Regions from separate parts of the Homo sapiens genome. Here all the other regions are linked to region 1. The links are contacts of gene promoters, found by promoter capture Hi-C in blood cells and fetal thymus (Javierre and others, 2016). All regions are on one chromosome and are shown on one strand. The core of a region is centred on a gene start or on the middle of the fragment in contact, and the rest is flanking DNA. Distances in the headings are between cores, read along the strand shown.

The links. The method cuts DNA at HindIII sites, captures the fragments that hold promoters and counts their contacts. A CHiCAGO score of 5 or more calls a contact.
Region 2: a contact is called between a fragment that was not itself captured here and the fragment with the promoter of TIGD7 in region 1, in 1 of 17 cell types (naive CD8 T cells). The highest score is 5.3, in naive CD8 T cells.
Region 3: a contact is called between a fragment that was not itself captured here and the fragment with the promoter of TIGD7 in region 1, in 11 of 17 cell types (erythroblasts, naive CD8 T cells, naive CD4 T cells and 8 more). The highest score is 9.0, in erythroblasts.

Annotation. Positions count from the first base shown.
Region 1 is chr16:3,303,591-3,307,483 of GRCh38, forward strand. It overlaps TIGD7 (tigger transposable element derived 7), which reads right to left and starts at 1,840. Exons shown (of 2, transcript NM_033208.4): 1 at 1,622-1,840. It overlaps ZNF75A (zinc finger protein 75A), which reads left to right and starts at 1,907. Exons shown (of 7, transcript NM_001302109.2): 1 at 1,907-2,053. RefSeq lists an enhancer at 1,401-1,930. The HindIII fragment of the contact is 19,814 bases long and covers 1-3,893 here.
Region 2 is chr16:3,507,157-3,511,049 of GRCh38, forward strand. It overlaps CLUAP1 (clusterin associated protein 1), which reads left to right. Exons shown (of 12, transcript NM_015041.3): 4 at 1,133-1,312. Among named protein-coding and RNA genes, the nearest start is that of CLUAP1, 8.1 kb to the left of the region's middle. RefSeq lists an enhancer at 2,759-2,818. The HindIII fragment of the contact is 1,091 bases long and covers 1,499-2,589 here.
Region 3 is chr16:3,445,859-3,449,751 of GRCh38, forward strand. It overlaps NAA60 (N-alpha-acetyltransferase 60, NatF catalytic subunit), which reads left to right. Exons shown (of 8, transcript NM_001083601.3): 2 at 2,613-2,682. Among named protein-coding and RNA genes, the nearest start is that of NAA60, 4.1 kb to the left of the region's middle. The HindIII fragment of the contact is 4,492 bases long and covers 25-3,893 here.

The DNA.
Region 1 (3,893 bases), core at 590-3,089:
CAAGTGACTTAGGCAGATGCTCATTATTAAATCTGTTTATCTTTCTCTCTCACTTAAAAAGGATCAAGATCTATGCCTAAGAGGAGTTACATACCATCCCATCCAAAAGCAAAAATAGCATAATGGCCTGGTAATGGCCTCTCATCTTCATTCTCACCTTAAACTTACCTTAGATGAACTGCCATAGAAAGCAGCTCAGTCCAAAACGCTCAAATGGTGCTCCAGGATTTACTTTTTTGTATTGTTTTGTTTTGTTTTTTGCGACGGAGTCTCGCTCTGTCGCCCAGGCTGGAATGCAGTGGCGTGAACTCGGCTCACTGCAAGCTCCGCCTCCCGGGTTCACGCCATTCTCCTGCCTCAGCCTCCCGAGTAGCTGGGACTACAGGCGCCCACCACCACGCCCGGCTAATTTTTTTTTGTATTTTTTAGTAGAGACGGGGTTTCACCATGTTAGCCAGGATGGTCTCGATCTCCTGACCTCATGATCCGCCCGCCTCGGCCTCCCAAAGTGCTGGGATTACAGGCGTAAGCCACCGCGCCCGGCCAGGATTTACTTTCTTAAATGCACTCTTTTCATTCCCATTCAAAGGACTCCAGTATAAGTGCCACATAAACTCGTTTTCTAACTTTTAAAACTCTTCCTCTAAATGCAGCCCAACTCAGTAAAAACGTACCTAAGATCTCACAGTCTAATGTTTCCAGCTTTTAAAGCCTTTACTCCTACCCTTCCCTCTGCCTGGAAAGTGTCTCCATTCCCTGCTGTGGACAAAATCCCTCAAGGTCTTTTATAATTTCCCCCAACCCCAAATCAACTTGGATTTTCTTGGAGTTCTCACAGCATTCAGTTTATGTCCTATTCTTACCCTTGTGTTACTGATATTCACGAAATTGCTCAGTCCTTTCAAGAGATTGCTTAAGGACAAAGACTTCTTACTCAACTCTGCAATATTGGCTACACATAGCTGACTTAATAAATAGTCCCTTGACTGGTATAAGCTGACGTTACAAAAACTGGTAATTCCGAAACCACTCATACTGGACTTATTAAATAATCCCTCAACTGGTACAGACTGACATTACAAAAACGGATTAATTCAGAGATCACTGAACACCCAAAACACTCAGATTCTTATAACTATGATTCAGTAAATATGTGTGGAATGCCTATCTTACCAGGTGACTATGTTAGGCGCTGCATGAGATATAAGATGAAAACAAGGTTCCCATTTTCCAGGGAAGAATACTGGAGTGGAAAACGCAGAGGATACCACAACAGGAGAGCTATTTCCGATTAGCGGCCGCCACTGCTGAGCTATGTGACCCTGAGCAAGTCACTTCTTAGGTCTCCGTTTCTCTGTCAAGGAGAGATAGAAAAAGAACCTATTTCACAGGTTCAAACCTACCTCAAGAAAAAATAGTTGTGGGGAATGCGTCACGAGACCTAGAAAACGGTACAAAACCCTCGGGGGGCCGCTGTTTCTGACCTAGCGAGTGGCCCGACCCGGACAAAATGCCTCTTCCTCGAGGAGGCGGCGACGAGCCCAGCAACAGCTCGAGCACGGCCGGCCGGGCCGCGGGAAGCCCGAGAACGCGGCGCGCGCAGCTGGGAGGCGACCCTTACCCGGCGAGGCTCCCGGGACCAAACGCCGCCCGACAGCCACGCAGAACAGACGCGGCAGTGCGACGCCTCCCCCACTGGGGACACGAGACAGCGACAGCCACGCGGTGAGCCGGTACAAGGCCCTCTAGGCTTCAGCGGGTCTGGATACTCGGTGGCATTAACCCTTCCCTACCGCCGGGGAAGACAGCAGTTTCTCTGGCGAGGAAGTAGGCCGGGCTCAGGCGCCTTAGCCAGAGGGCGGGCCTGCGCCACCCTCGGAAAGCGTCACTTCCACTTCCGGCCGGCGCTCTGGCTCTGTACCTGGACAGGGCTGCGGTAGGCCAGCGGTGGGCTGGCGGTTGCGCTCCTCAGATCGGCGGCCTTTCGGGCGGTGGCTTGCGTTTGAGCCTCAGAAAGCGAGGAGCGGCCTCCACGGAAGCCAAGCTGGCCGAGGTAACCGAGAAGCGGCTTCCCCTATGGCTTCGACCCTGGAGCCGCTGGAGCGGCGGCGGCCGCAGGGAGGCAGCCATTTTCCGTAGGCGGTGGCCGCGGCGCTTCCGGGCCGCGCGGCTGGAGCCTGAGGCGGGGCCACCGTCGGGCACGAGAAACCATTCTCTCCCCGCTTTTCGCAGCTGTATCCCAGAGGCGCGGCTGAAGCTCGCTGGGACACTGCCCGCTTGCCCAGTGCCCACGGGCACGCCTGTCGCAGACACAGGCTGTGGCGAATCCGAGTGCTGGCGGGCAGCAGTGCCTGCAGCTGCGCCCGCAGACTCTTTCCCGCCTCCGCCGGCATTTCCGTGTCCGGCCGATGTCATGCGGTCGGTTGAGCCTCAGGGCTAGCAGCTTCTACTGATGCAAAAACATAGGAAGTGTCTCTTTGCTTCTGGAACCGGGGTGGGCAGCAAGGAGCTGGCCACTTCTTTGAATACCGGTGGCATCCTGGGCAGAATTTCGGTGCCGTTTCTGCTGGCTCACTTCAGGAAAAGTGAGGCTCACGGCTCTCCTCAGCCCCCCTTAGAAGTCTAAATGACCTTTGGAGAAATACAAAGTCAGCAGAAAGTTTCACTTTCATCGTCACCAACTCCTGTTGGAGTTGATATTTCATAAACATCAGCGACAGAAAGAAAATACGACTTGATATTTTGTAAATAAAATATCCTTTTTTACAAGTTGATATTTTGTAAACAGAGGTCAGCTGTAATTTTCTCCAGATCAAGTAAGCACAGTTAAAAATTCATATAGGCCTGGCGCGGTGTTTGACGCCTGTAATCCCAGCACTTTGGGAGGCCAAGATGGGTGGATCACGAGGTCAGGAGATCGAGACCACCCTGGCCAAGATGGTGAAACCCTGTCTCTACTAAAAACACAAAAATTAGCCGGGCATGGTGGCACGCGCCTGTAATCCCAGCTAGTCGGGAGGCTGAGGCAGGAGAATGGCTTCAACCGGGGAGGTGGAAGTTGCAGTGAGCTGAGATCACGCCACTGCACTCCAGCCTGGGTGACAGGGCGAGACTCCATCTCAAAAAAAAAAACAAAATTCGTATAAATCATCTGCATGGCACCCTTTATGTGTGTTGCAAAGAATGATGAGCATCTTGTTGCTTACTTGGGAGACATTGTCTGAAAATAGGCTACTTTTTTACTTTCTGTAGTACCCCCTCCCCCCACTGTATCTGGGTTTCACTTACCCGCTGTCAACTGCCATCCAAAAAATATTAAATGGAAAACTCCAGAAATAAACAGTTCATAAGTTTTAAATAACTTTTTTTTTTTTTTTTGGAGATGGAATCTCGTTTTGCTGCCCTGGCTGGAGTGCCGTGGCACAGTCTGAGCTCACTGCAGCCTTCACCTCCCGGGTTCAAACAATTTTCCTGCCTCAGCCTCCTGGGTAGCTGGGACTACAGGCGCGCACTACCACACCTGGCTAATTTTTGTGTTTACAATAAAGAAGGTTTCACCATGTTGGCCAGGCTGGTCTTGAAGTCCTGGTCTCAGGTGATCCACCCACGTCAGGCCTCCCAAAGTGCTGGGATTACAGGCATGAGCCACGGCGCACCGCCAGTTTTAAATAACTCTTACTACAGTGTTTTATTGTTAATCTCTTATTGTACCTAATTTATAAATTAAGGTATCATAGCTATGTATACATAGAGAAAATAGTATAATGCAGTTAGATGCTGTTGGGGGTTTTAGGTATTCACAGAATGTACTGGAACTTACCCCCCTTGGAGAAGGGATACTACTGTATTTTGATCTCACCGTCTCAGCTCTTTTGCCAGTATTCCTACAATGG
Region 2 (3,893 bases), core at 794-3,293, 200 kb after region 1:
CTGCACTCCAGCCTGGGCAACAGAGCAAGACTCTGTCTTAAAAAAAAAAAAAAAGAATTTTATTTATTTATTTTTGAATAGATAACATATTTCATGGCTCACAAATTGAAAGTAGGCTGGGCGTGGTTGTTCATGCCTGTAATCCTAGCACTTTGGCAGGCCAAGGTGGGAGGATAGCTTGAGTCCAGGAGTTTGAGAACAGCCTGGGTGATGTAGTGAGATCCTGTCTCTACAAAAAATAAATTTAAAAAAAATTAGATGGGCCTGGTGACACGTGCCTGTAGTCTCAGGTGCTTGGGAGGCTGAGGTGGGAGGATTGCTTGAGCCCGGGAGGTTGAGGCTGCAGTGAGCCGGGATCATGTCATTGCACTCCAGCCCAGGTGACAGAGTGAGACCCTATCTCAAAAAAAAAAAAAAAATTAAAAACATTATGAAACAAAATGGAGTAAAATGACTTTTTACCCTATCTGCCCTGGGCCAAGTTCCATTCCAAATAACCACTATTTTAAATCTCTTCCAGAGTTTGTGTGTGTGTGTGTGTGTGTGTGTGTGTGTGTGTGTGCAAATAAAAATATATATTTTTCCTTTGTTTTACACAAATGGTACTGTATTCTACTTGATGTACTTACTGTACACTACAAGATGTTTAGCATCTTGCTTTACTTAATGGTATATTTTAGAGAACTTTCCAAATACATATAGAATTTCCTCATTCTGTTTACGCCTGAGTGGTATTGCTTGCATGGATTTGCCATAATTTATGTAATTTATATAGGTAGGCTTTTAGGTTGTCTGAAGCTTTGCTCTTTGGAACAGTGCTGTAACAAATAACCTGTACATCTCATTTTGTTTGTGTTTGAGTGTGTCCCTAGAATAAGTTCTTAGATTTGGGATTGCTGGGTCAAAAGATATGTGCATTTGTAATTTTGATGTCTTTTACCAAATTGCTCTCCATCAAGATTGTCCCAGTTTATACAACCACTCACAATGTTTGAGTCACTTGAATGCTTTGCTTTTATTAGGTTATATCCCAGTTGTCAGCAGAGGCATTTTCAACTCACCTACATGGGATTTAGTTTAGACATTACATGGAAAGGGCCTTCAACTTTTTTTTTTTTTGGTCTAAAAATAGGCCACCAAGGCACATATAAAACTCAACACTAAGAAGCTTTATCAAGCAGATGGGTATGCGGTAAAAGAGCTGCTGAAGATCACATCTGTCCTTTATAATGCTATGAAGACCAAGGGGATGGAGGGCTCTGAAATAGTAGAGGAAGATGTCAACAAGTTCAAGTTTGATCTTGGCTCAAAGGTAAGGACAACAAAAGCCTTGTAGTGGGCGATGGAGCGTTGATTTCTTGAGCTCTGAAGTGGAAGGAGTCTGCTACAGCTCCGCTGCTTTTCTTCCTCCTCAGCTGAGGGCAGTTTGTCAGTTTTGTGCTCATCAGCATTTGGATAAAGTCAAAGTCACAATCCACTAATTCAACTATTTATTAAAAGCTTAGTATTTGTCAGGTAGCATTCAAGCGCTGAGGATACAGTTGTGAACAAAAAGGACAAAAATCGTGTGTTTATTCTCTTCAGTTAGGGGAGTCAGACTGTGAACAATAAGAGGTGTGGAAGGCCAGATGCAGTGCAGGCTGTGGAGAATAATAAGCTGGGATGGGGATGGATGCTGCCCAGAGTGATCTTAAATCGGGTGATCAGGAAGGCCTCATGGATTGGATGGTGTTTCCAGCAGAGATCCAAGGGAGGGAAAGAGTGAGTTGTGCGGGTGGCGGGTGGCGTCAGGGTGTCTCAGGATGATAATTTGTTTTGGGCTGGGTGCAGTGACTCACTCCTGTAAGCCAAACACTTTGGGAGGCCGAGGTGGGAGGATCCTTTGATGCCAAGAGTTCCAGACCAACCTGGGCAACATAGTGAGACGCCATTTTTACCAAAAAAAAGAAAAAAATTAGCTAGGCGTGGTGGTACACACCTGTGGTCCCAGCTGCCCAGGAGGCTGAGGTGGGAAGATCTCTTGAGCCCAGGCAGTCAAGCCATGTTCATGGCACTGCGCTCCCGCCTAGGCAACAGAACGAGACCTTGTCTGGGGGGAAGAAAAAAAATGTGTTTTGTGTGTTTGAGGAAAAGCAAGGAGGCCGTGTGATGAGGGTTGGGATTGACAGACCCTCTGGCGCCTGGGAAGCCCCTGGAAAGCCTTTGTCTTTGCCTCTAAGGTGGGAATCGTTGGGATCCAAGCGGAACCTTCTGTGCTTATTTCCCGTCCAAAGGGTTGCTCTGGCTGCTGAGCCGCCATCAGACCGAAGCAGGCGGCAGGGCTGGAAGCAGCGAGCCTGTTTGGAGAGTGAGGGGTGACCGTGGCTTTGAGCAGAGTGCTGGTGGGACAGGTGCCGTCAGGTGTCAGGGAGCGACCACAGCAGCAAGCCAGAAATAAAGGTTAAGCCGTTACTCTGAGGCCCAAGGCCTCAGAGCAGGAGACCTAGGAATGAAGGCCCCGGGGCTGGGAGTGCACCTAAGAGTGTGGCCACGCAGGGTACGTGAAACCACAGTGCACTGGCTGAGCTCCAAGTCTGCTGCAGGGAAGAAAGCTTCCCCTGTGAGGCCTGCTAGGTGAGGCCTTGTCATGGTCTATAGTTGGGCTTGAAAAGCCACACACAGCTTTTTTGTTTTGTTTTTGTTTTGTTTTGAGACGGAGTTTCAGTCTGTGGCCCAGGCTGGAGTGCAATGGCACGATCTTGGCTCGCTGCGCCTCTGCCTCCCAGGTTCAAGAGATTCTTCTGCCTCAGCCTCCTAAGTAGCTGGGATTACAGGTACACACCACCATGCCCAGCTAATTTTTTTTTTTTTTTTTTGAGATGGAGTTTCACTCTTGTTGCCCAGGCTGGAGTGCAATGGCACAATCTCAGCTCACTGCAACCTCTGCCTCCCAGGTTCAAGTGATTCTTCTGCCTCAGCCTCCTGAGTAGCTGAGATTACAGGCATGCGCCACCACACCCAGCTAATTTTTTACTTGTAGTAGAGTCAGGGTTTCTCCATGTTGGTCAGGCTAGTCTCGAACTCCTGACCTCAGGTGATCTGCCCGCCTCAGCCTCCCAAAGTGCTAGGATTACAGGCGTGAGCCACCGCACCCGGCTTTGTATTTTTTTTTTTTTTTTTAGCAGAGATGGGGTTTCACCATGTTGGCCAGCTAGTCTCAAACTCCTGACCTCAGGTGATCTGCCTGCCTCGGCCTCCCGTAGTGCTGGGATTATAGGCGTGAGCCACCGCGCCTGTCCTCACATGTGGGTTTTTAACCAGGAGCGACACTCGTCAGCAAGAGAAGTGTCTAGAGATTGGGGCATATTTTGATGGTAGATCTCACGGGATGAGGCATGGGTTGAGAGTAAGTCAGGTGCTACAGGCCGGGTCTTGGGGCAGCCGTGCGGCAGAGCTTGCAGAGCTCATGGGTGTGTTCCGCCTCTGTGCTGTACTCTACGGGAACCACTGGCCACATGTGGCAAGCACAACTGAGGAACTGAGTTGAGTTCTGCATTTTCTTTAATTCTTAAGTAATTTAAGTGAAAATGGCCACATGTGGCTATTGGTTACTATATTAGACATCACTGCTCTGAAGTTTTTTGTGTGAGCCCCTGGAAGGATGAAGTTGCCATGTACTGAAGCAGAGAAGGTTCTGCACATGCTCCATTTGCCACGCCGATTGGCTGTCCAGGTGGAGATGGTGCACAGGTAGCTGGTATGTGAAACTAGAGCCCAGGGAAAGCCCAGGCTGGAGCTGGGAGCTGGGGAGCAATCAGCACACAGATGGTATTAAAGCCTTGAGGGTAGGAGCAGAGCCAGCAGAAAAGACGGGGGGTCCAGGAATGAAACTCTGACTCGCTCCACTTTTGAGA
Region 3 (3,893 bases), core at 1,021-3,520, 140 kb after region 1:
GGACAAAGAAGGAGGAAGCTTGAAAGCTTTATCTTCCTGAAAATAAAGAGATGACATACAAAGTCCAAGATAGACCAAGATTGAAAAATTAGACCACATTATATCCCTAACTCAATTTTGTAAAAAATCACAAATGCTTGACTGTATACCCACTATATGTTCAAGTAACATGTTTTAATCATCAAAATTTAAAAATCCTTCCACGACAATCTTTTGCAAGTTTTTCCATTTCTGTCTTTAACATGGTACCAGTAATAACAACTACAACCTGTTTGTATTGAAATTATTTCTATAGCCCAGCATCTGCTTTCTCTGAAAATTATCTTTTTAAAAATAGTAAAACTAACATCATTACAAAAGTAGTATATGTGCATTTCAGAAAGTTAGGAAAGGCTGGGTGCGGTGGCTCACGCCTGTAATCCCAGCATTTTGTGAGGCTGAGGTGGGCAGATCACAAGGTCAGGAGATCGAGACCATCCTGGCTAACACGATGAAACCCCATCTATACTAAAAATACAAAAAATTAGCCAGGCGTGGTAGCGGGCACCTGTAGTCCCAGCTACTCGGGAGGCTGAGGCAGGAGAATGGCGTGAACCTGGGAGGCGGAGCTTGCAGTGAGCCGAGATCACACCACTGCACTCCAGCCTGGGTGACAGAGTGAGACTCTGTCTGAAAAAAAAAAAAAAAAGAAAATACAGGGGAAAAAATGGCAACACATTCCTGTCACCCAGAGATCACCACTATTTACTCTTTATTATTTGTTTTTTTTTTTTTGAGACAGTCTCACTGTTGCCCAGGCTGGAGAGCAGTGGTGCGATCTCTGCTCACTGCAACTTCCGCCTCCTGGGTTCAAGTGATTCTTGTGCCTCAGCTACCAGAGTAGATGAGATGATGGGCAGATGCCACCACAACCATTTAATTTTTGTATTTTTAGTAGAGATGCAGTTTTGCCATGTTGGCCAGGCTGGTCTCAAACTCCTGGCCTCAAGTGATCCGCCCATGTCAGCCTCCCAAAGTGCTGGGATTACAGGTATGAGCCACCGCACCTGGCCTGCTCACTGCAACCTCCATCTCCCAGGTTCAAGCAATTCTTCTGGCTCAGCCTCCCGAGTAGCTGGGACTATAGGTGCGTACCACCACACCTGGCGAATTTTTGTATTTTTAGTAGAGGACGGGTTTTCCCCATATTGGCCAGGCTGGTCTCGAACTCCTGACCTTGTGATCTGCCCGCCTTGGCCTCCCAAAGTGCTGGGATTACAGGCGTGAGCCCCTGCCCCCGGCCCCTATTCTTAAGTATATATCTTTTCCCTAGTGATTTTTATGATGATGCAGCTGTATATTGAAACGGAAAGATACTCATTTTTGGGAGTAAAATTGGTTATGAAACAAAAACAATAACAAAGTTGCTTTTGAAGACTATGCGTTAAAATGGTAGTGGTAGTTATATTTTTAATTTTTATGGGTACATAGTAGGTGTATATATTTATGTGGTACATGAAATATTTTGATGCAGGCATGCAATGTGTAATCACTTCAAGGTAAATGGGGTATCTTCCCTGGCGATGTTTAACATGATTTCCAGAATGAATTGCTCACTACGTTTGGTGTGTTTTCCATTCCCAGATGGTACTGCCTTTTAAGGTCTATTACTTAAACATAAGTATGGCTCTGGTTCTTACCGCCTTTACCGTATCCTTCATGGGAAGTTGATACTGATCGGAAACTGACACAGAGCCTTCTCACCTACACTAAGGGGGCCTAGGTAAGCAAGATTATCTTTCTCCCAACTTCAGCAAGAGGTTTTCTTACTGGTGTTCAGAATGCTTGATTGAGCAGTTAGAAAACTGTTGCTACCTAGTCTCCAGTCTTATAAGGGGACAATGGCTGCAAGTCATGCCTGCAAGAACAAGAGGCTCACACAGTTTTGAAATTAGCACAACTTCTAGCTGGATAGGAGTCTTTTTAGTTTCATTTAGCCTTGAGTTGAAACTAATAGGAGTCTTTTAATTAGAAAAAAGCTCAGGGCTCTAAACGTACCTTCAACATGTTAATTCTGTTACCAAAAACTGGCTTGGTCTGTGTTAACTCCCAACAGAATTCTTTTTCAGTCACTGAGGCAGAGGTGCTTCCAGAGAAAGATTCTTGACCTACTCATACTGAATAATTATCGTTACTAGAAGCTGCAACCAAAGACTCCTGGAGGGTAGTAAGAGGTACAGAGAATGCAGGTTAGATACAGTGAGGACAGAGAAGAAAGGATGGGTTGGAGGCTGGGCGTGGTCACTCACACCTATAATTCCAGCTACTTTAGAGGCTGAAGCAAGAGAATCACTTGAGTCCAGGAGTTCGAGGCTGCAGTGAGCTAGCATTGTGCCACTGCACTCCAGCTTGGATGACAGAGCAAGACCTTGTCTCAAAAAAAAAAAAAAAAAAAACATGGGTTGCTTTGTAGTTTAGAGAACTACATGTTTAGATAGTTAATTTTTCCCCAAAAGGGCCCATCAGATTGATACTCTGAGATCCAGGGTTTGTCTGACACTCATTAGCCTATGAGTTGTAGAGATGGGATGGCCAGGAGTGAAGTGATGGCCTTGTGTCTTTCTCCCCTGCAGCATACAGAAAGGCTGTACCTGGAGGAAGGAAGTGCGGAGCCAGCCTGAGTTGGGAGAAGAGCTCCAGAGAGTGAGTCAAAGCGCTCTGTGTCCTGCTATTAATGATGCCCTCATAGTCAGAGGAAGCCTACTTAAGTGAAATCCATTTTTGACCTGTCAAGTATTAAATATTCTCTTAATTTTTAGTACTGAATGATAGAAGGCGCCTAGTGAAACAAATGCTTTCACTTTTTTGCTAGGAGGGTAAATGAGTATATTCTTACGTTAGGTACACAGGGATACAGTACAAGTATGCCAGCCTCTTTAAACTATAAAGAAGTAAACAAGATTTGGTTTAAGCATCAGTCTCTTGTGAGTCTGATGGGTAAGCCCAGTCTCAGGGCACACTGACAATGTTAGTGGAGAACGAGACTCTCCCAGTGTGCTGCCCTGACCCTCTGAGATTGGTCTGTGTAGCCACGTGGTGGTCATCCTGTGCCACCTCTGGTTTGGTTCTAATCAAAGGAAGCAGTATCATCTGTGGTGATCCGTCTTACACACTTGCATCATTTTATACCAAAGGAGAATTTCTTTTGTTAAAAATTTATTTTTCATTATCTACTCATAAAGAAGGAGCCAAAGGGCTGGGCGCAGTGGCTCACGCCTGTAATCCCAGCACTTTAGGAGGTGAGGCGGGTAGATCTCTGGAGGTCAGGAGTTCGAGACCAGCCTGCCCAACATGTTGAAACCCCATCTCTACTAAAAAATACAAAAATGTAGCCGGGTGTGCTGGGCGTGGTGGCTCACGTCTGTAATCCCAGCACTTTGGGAGGCCAAGGCAGGTGGATCATGAGGTCAGGAGATCGAGACCATCCTGGCTAACACGGTGAAACCCCATCTTTACTAAAAATACAAAAAATTAGCTGGGCGTGGTGGTGGGCACCTGTAGTCCCAGCTACTTGGGAGGCTGAGGCAGGAGAATGGTGTGAACCTGGGAGGTGACAGTTGCAGTGAGCCGAGATCACACCACTGTACTCCAGACTGGGCGACAGAGCAAGACTCTGTCTCAGAAAAAAAAAGAAAAATTTAGCCAGGCATGGTGGCGCCCAACTGTAGTCCCAGCTACTCGGGAGGCTAAGGAAGAAGAATTGCTTGAACTCAGGAAATGGAGGTTGCAGTGAGCTGAGATCGCACCACTGCACTCCAGCCTGGGTGACAGAGCGAGACCCCATCTGATATGGTTTGGCTGTGTCCCCACCCAAATCTCATCTGCAATTCCCATATATTATGGGAGGGACCCAG